2 separate regions of the Homo sapiens genome follow, and region 2 is linked to region 1. The links are contacts of gene promoters, found by promoter capture Hi-C in human tissues and cell types (Jung and others, 2019). All regions are on one chromosome and are shown on one strand. The core of a region is centred on a gene start or on the middle of the fragment in contact, and the rest is flanking DNA. Distances in the headings are between cores, read along the strand shown.

Region 1 (2,700 bases), core at 111-2,610:
AACAAGCATTTCACTTCTCAAGATATTTTTCAACAAGGCCTTTAACTCATTGGGCTACTCTCGTTTCTGCTAAAAGGTGTAGTGCAAATCATAGACTTCTACCAGCACCCTTCACACCTTCCACCTCAGTCACCCCAGAGAAAGAGCAAATAAAGAGAATACGAGAGAAAGATGAGACTCAGGCTGCATCACTGGGTCTTTGTAAGTGGGTCCCCCGCCTGCCTGAGACTGGCATAGTTCCAGGTACCAGCAGCCCCAGAGCAAAAGTTCTCAGCCCAGCAGGGTTGGCTTTCTGTGTGCCAGTGGCATCTGAACTTCCTGTCCGTCTCACATCTGGGTACCCTCAAGATGGATGTGCGGGCATCAGCCAACAGCCAGGTCTTCCCCTCCCTACTGCATAGGTGGTACATTCTCCTCAGTTTCTCCTCCCTAAAGAAGGCTCAGGCTGGCCGGGAGCGATGGCTCACGCCTATAATCCCAGCACTTTGGGAGGCCGAGGCAGGTGGATCATGAGGTCAGGAGATCGAAACCATCCTGGCTAACACGGTGAAACCCTGTCTCTACTACAAATACAAAAAAAAAAAAAAAAAAAAAAATTAGCCAGGCGTGGTGGCGGGCGCCTATAGTCCCAGCTACTCGGGAGGCTGAGGCAGGTGAATGGCGTGAACCTGGGAGGCGGAGCTTGCAGTGAGCCGAGCTCACACCACTGCACTCCAGCCTGGGCGACAGAGCAAGACTCTGTCTCAGAAACGAAAAAAAAAAAAAAAAGGAGGCCGAGGCAGGCGGATCAGGAGGTCAGGAGATCGAGACCATCCTGGCTAACACGGTGAAACCCCGTCTCTACTAAAAATACAAAAAATTAGCCGGGCGTGGTGGTGGGCACCTGTAGTCCCAGCTACTCGGGAGGCTGAGGCAGGAGAATGGCGTGAACCCGAGAGGCAGAGCTTTCAGTGAGCCAAGATCGCGCCACTGCACTCCAGCCTGGGCGATAGAGCGAGACTCCGTCTCAAAAAAGAAAAAGAAGGCGGCTCAGGCTGGCCAGTGACGCTTGTGCCCCAGAAAGTTTGCCCCGCACATACCTCCTCCCTTCTCAGCGGTTTCCTGGGACTCTTCATTTTCCAAATGTTTCCTCTTTTGTCGTCGTTTCATGATATCAGCTAGAAGAGTTTCTAGAAGATGCTTAATGTCCACCTCCCACTTTTTCCTGTAGATTGGCCCTTCTTGGCTCTCAGGAAATTCATTAAAAAGATTCAGTACGAGTAAACGTAGTTGAATCTCCGAGATAGCTAAAGAACTCAGACCGCTTAGTGAAGGAGCAGCACTGCCCAGTGCCCACTACACTGCAGGGCTGTTAAGGTTCAAAGGTCACCAGGCCCATCGCAGATTCTCTGACATCAATGATGACATCACGGCGTTCTACGGACCTAGGTCCAACACAGTCTGTGCAACTGCAGAGACATCATTTTCAAAAACAATTCCTTTTTTCCAATAGAAGTCCTCTAATGAATTCAACTCTCCCGTATTTCAAATGTGGCAGAATATTTTGAGATGTTAACATGTTCTGTTTAATTTTTTTCTTTTCTTCTTTTTTTTTCACCCTTTCCCTTCTGGACTCAAGCAGGTAGCAGGCTTTGTGTTCATTGCTCAGAGGAGGGGTATGGCAGGGCTGAAAGCAGCAATAGCATGTTAATCATCTTGACTTTTCTTTCTTTTTTTTTTTTTTGTTGTTTTTATTTTGTTTTGTTTGTTCAGAGACAGGGTCTCTCTCTGTTGCCCAGGCTGGATTGCAGTGGTGTGATCATAGGGTCACTTCAGCCCCTAGGCTCAAGTGATCATCACACTTCAGCCTCCCGAGTAGCTGGGACAACAGGCACCAGACACGAGGCACCACACCCGGCTAATTTTTTTTTTTTTTTTTTTTTTTGAGAAACAGGGTCTCAGTATGTTGCCCAGGTTGGTCTTGAACTCCTAGCCTCAAGCTATCCTCCTGCCTCAGGCTCCCAAAGTGCTAGGATTGTAGGCATGAGCCACCACACCCCACCTGACTTTTATTTCTAAAATCTCAAACTCTGTAGGAAAGAGGAAAGTTAGCAGAAACATAACGGAAGCAGGATTTTTTTTAACTAGGCATGCCCCCTTCTTGCTCTACTATAGTGTTGAGAGGTACTGATTAGGTCAGAGAGAGAGAGGGATCTTCAAACTATGGAGGAGAGGAGCCCTCTAAAATGTGGCTGAAGAGGTACATGTGGCAAAAACTTCAAGAAGGGCTGCCTGTATTATGCGTACAGGCAGAATCATGGCGACCTATCTCACACATGGCATAGGAGCCACACCACCTAAAGACTCCCTGGCAGCTGAGCTGATGGGCATCTAAACTTCAGCTGTATGCTCCAATAACCAGAGACTATGCTCTCACCCCACCCTCAAAACCTCAGCCCTGTATGATTTCCAAATAGGGAGGGGTGGAAATCCAAAGAGGACATCAACAGAACCAAGGCTTAAATTACAAATTAAATGGAGTTACATAAGAAAATTGCATACTATTTCCTGCACATCTCTGCTCATGGGCTGAAATGTATACCAGTTATAAGTGGCAACCCATCTGGATCTTCCTGATTCCAATCTAAAATTAGAGACACCTTATTTGGGGCAGTGGCCCCAGTCCAGTGGGACTATTAGTTGACAAGTATGAGGGGGACT
Region 2 (2,700 bases), core at 187-2,686, 470 kb before region 1:
ACAACAGAGGGAAGAGGCAACCTGTATAGTAAGAAAAATACTTAGAAACTCTTCATTTGAAATTAATAACCAGAATATACAACGAACTCAAAACAACTCAATATCAAAATAAAACCCAAATAATTCAATTTTATAATGGGACAATGAACTGAATACACATTTTTCAAAAGAAGACATACAAATGGTCAATAGGTATGTGAATAAAAATGCTCAGCATCACTAATCATCAGGAATGCAAATCAAAACTACAATGAGGTATCATCTCATGCTAGTTAGAATGGCTAACAAAAAGACAAAAAATAACAAATACTGTTGAGAATGGAAAGGGGAATTCTTGAAGACTGTTGGTGGAAATGTACATTAGCGCAGCTATTATGGAAAACAGTACGAAAGTTCCTTTAAAAAAAAAACTAAAAATTTAACTACTATATGATCCAGCAATCCCAATACTGGGAATAAATCCAAAACAAAGAAAATCAATATGTCAAAGAAATATCTGCACTTCTATGTTTATTGAAGCACTATTCACAATAGTTAAGATGTGGAATCAGCCTAAGTATACATCAACAGATGAATAAAGAAAAGGTGACATATATTAACAATAGAATACAATTTAGTGATTAAAAAAAAACTTGTCATTCTCAGCAACATGGATGAGCTTGGAGAACACTATGTTAAGTGAAATAAACCAGGCATTGAAACATAAATACTATATGTTCTCACTTATTTGTGAAAGTTAAAATAGTTGATCTCACAGAAGTAGGGGCTAAAACAGTTATTAGTAGATGCTGGGAAGGGTAGGGGTTTGGGTTATAAGACTTACGAGATTCCTAAGCAAAGCAGTGGCTATAGAGGGAAAGAGAGAAAAGAGAAGGAGCAGTGGCTATAGAGGGAAAGAGAGAAAAGAGAAGGAGCAGTGGCTATAGAGGGAAAGAGAGAAAAGAGAAGGAGAAAGAGAGAAGAGAGAGTGAGAATACACAATGACAAAAATGAAAAACTGAGAATTTGAGCAGTTTAAAGTTGCAGACCAGTCATAACATAGAATAAATTGTTAGGTTTTTCAATTAAAAAAATACAATTTAGGATAAATTATAGGTAAGAAGGGAGAAAGTTGTACATGAAATTCCCTGAGCAGTTATGAAGCACAGATATTTGACAAGGGAGAATTGCACTTTCAGAATATGACACTACGATTCTAAGAAAATTCTTAGAAAATCTCACATTGGCTGTCATCCCAATATATACAGAATTTTTGAGTTTTATATCAATTCCACAGATATTTATGGTGTGTCTACTAAATAAAAGCAGAAAATTGTGCTGAGTGAAATATCAGGTTTATACCTAGGAAGCTTACACATTAGCAAAATAAATGAGATATTCCCAGATAGCTATCCTTTAATTCAATATGTGAAAAGTGACAAACGAATTAAGTGCCAGAGGGAAGATAGATTCCTTTTAATTCAGTATGACTTAAGTTTAACTTTTTTAAAAAGGTATCGACTAAACTACAAAAGATTCCACAGTACCACAGGCTGCAGTCTCAAAGATTGTTATAAGAATCTCGTATCTACCACAGTTCTACCTTCCTCTTTTTAGGCTTCCCTTGTGGATAGAATGTTCACTTGTGATAGCTCCCAGCTTATGTCTTCTTTGATTAAATTCCAAAAGAAAACAAAACAAAAATCTCTTCCCCAAAAGTTCTAACTAGCATTCTGGACCTGATTCTTATTTGTCTCAGCTAAGTTATATGTTTATCTGTGAAGCAATCATTACGGCTGGATGAAGGGCTGGGGAGCGTGGAGTGTGTAGACTGGCTTAAGTATATGTCATCTGTATGTGAGCTGAAGACAGTGGAGGAATGGTTTCAAAGGAATATCAAGTTACTGTTATGAGAAGAAGGGAAAATAAATGCTAAACAGGGAGACAGAATGTATATATAGAATGTATTTGCAACCAATCACAAAAAAGCCAATTAATAGTGGCTTATGCCATAAAGTATTTATTATTTTCTTAAGAAGTCCAGAACTAAGCATTTCCAAGTGTTAAGCTTTTAGCATTTTTCTACTCAACCACCCTCAGTATGTTGACATTTTTCCTATGGCTTCATATTCTCATACATCCACACAATAAATTCCTCCTCATGCAGCTTTCTCAGTGAGAAAAATGTATTCCAAAAGTACTCAGCACAAATTTGACTACATCTCTATGGCCAAAACTAGGTCATATGTCACAAGAGAGACTAGGTTGCCATTGTCACAGGAGACCAATCATGATTTAAGACTCTGCATTGGGCGTTTTGCAGTTCTAACTCAATTGTGGTATTAGCAAAGAAAAAGAGGTAACGGCTACCAGATAGACAGCCAATAAAATCTGCCAGATGTTCAGAAAGGCAAAATTAACCTGGAAGTGGTGTGCGGAATGGATGAAGGGGATAAGTTATAAGGGGCAGTGCTGGAGAACATACGGAGGAAGGGCATCAACCAGAGCATTGATGGTGAGAAACTCTCTAATATTTGTGTAAATGTAAACTTGGAGGACATAAACCACCATTCAATGTGAAGTTATTTTTAAACATTAGAAAGAAATGGAGATCCTACTTGGCTTTCACTATGCACCACCAGATTGTTTAATTGCTTTAATTTGCTCATATCCACATGAGATTACTTAAAATTGTCTAATGTGCCTCTCATTTAATTTCTA

What was found. Contacts are between HindIII fragments. The study calls those that stand out against the background at their distance.
Region 2: a fragment that was not itself captured here is called in contact with the fragment with the promoter of FAM170A in region 1 in 1 of the 25 tissues and cell types used here (dorsolateral prefrontal cortex).

The regions. Positions count from the first base shown.
Region 1 is chr5:119,628,218-119,630,917 of GRCh38, reverse strand. FAM170A (family with sequence similarity 170 member A) reads right to left here and starts at 1,360. Exons shown (of 5, transcript NM_001367956.1): 1 at 1,080-1,360. The coding sequence starts at 1,149. The HindIII fragment of the contact is 14,754 bases long and covers 1-2,700 here.
Region 2 is chr5:120,098,213-120,100,912 of GRCh38, reverse strand. No RefSeq gene overlaps it. Among named protein-coding and RNA genes, the nearest start is that of PRR16, 360 kb to the left of the region's middle. The HindIII fragment of the contact is 4,575 bases long and covers 1-2,700 here.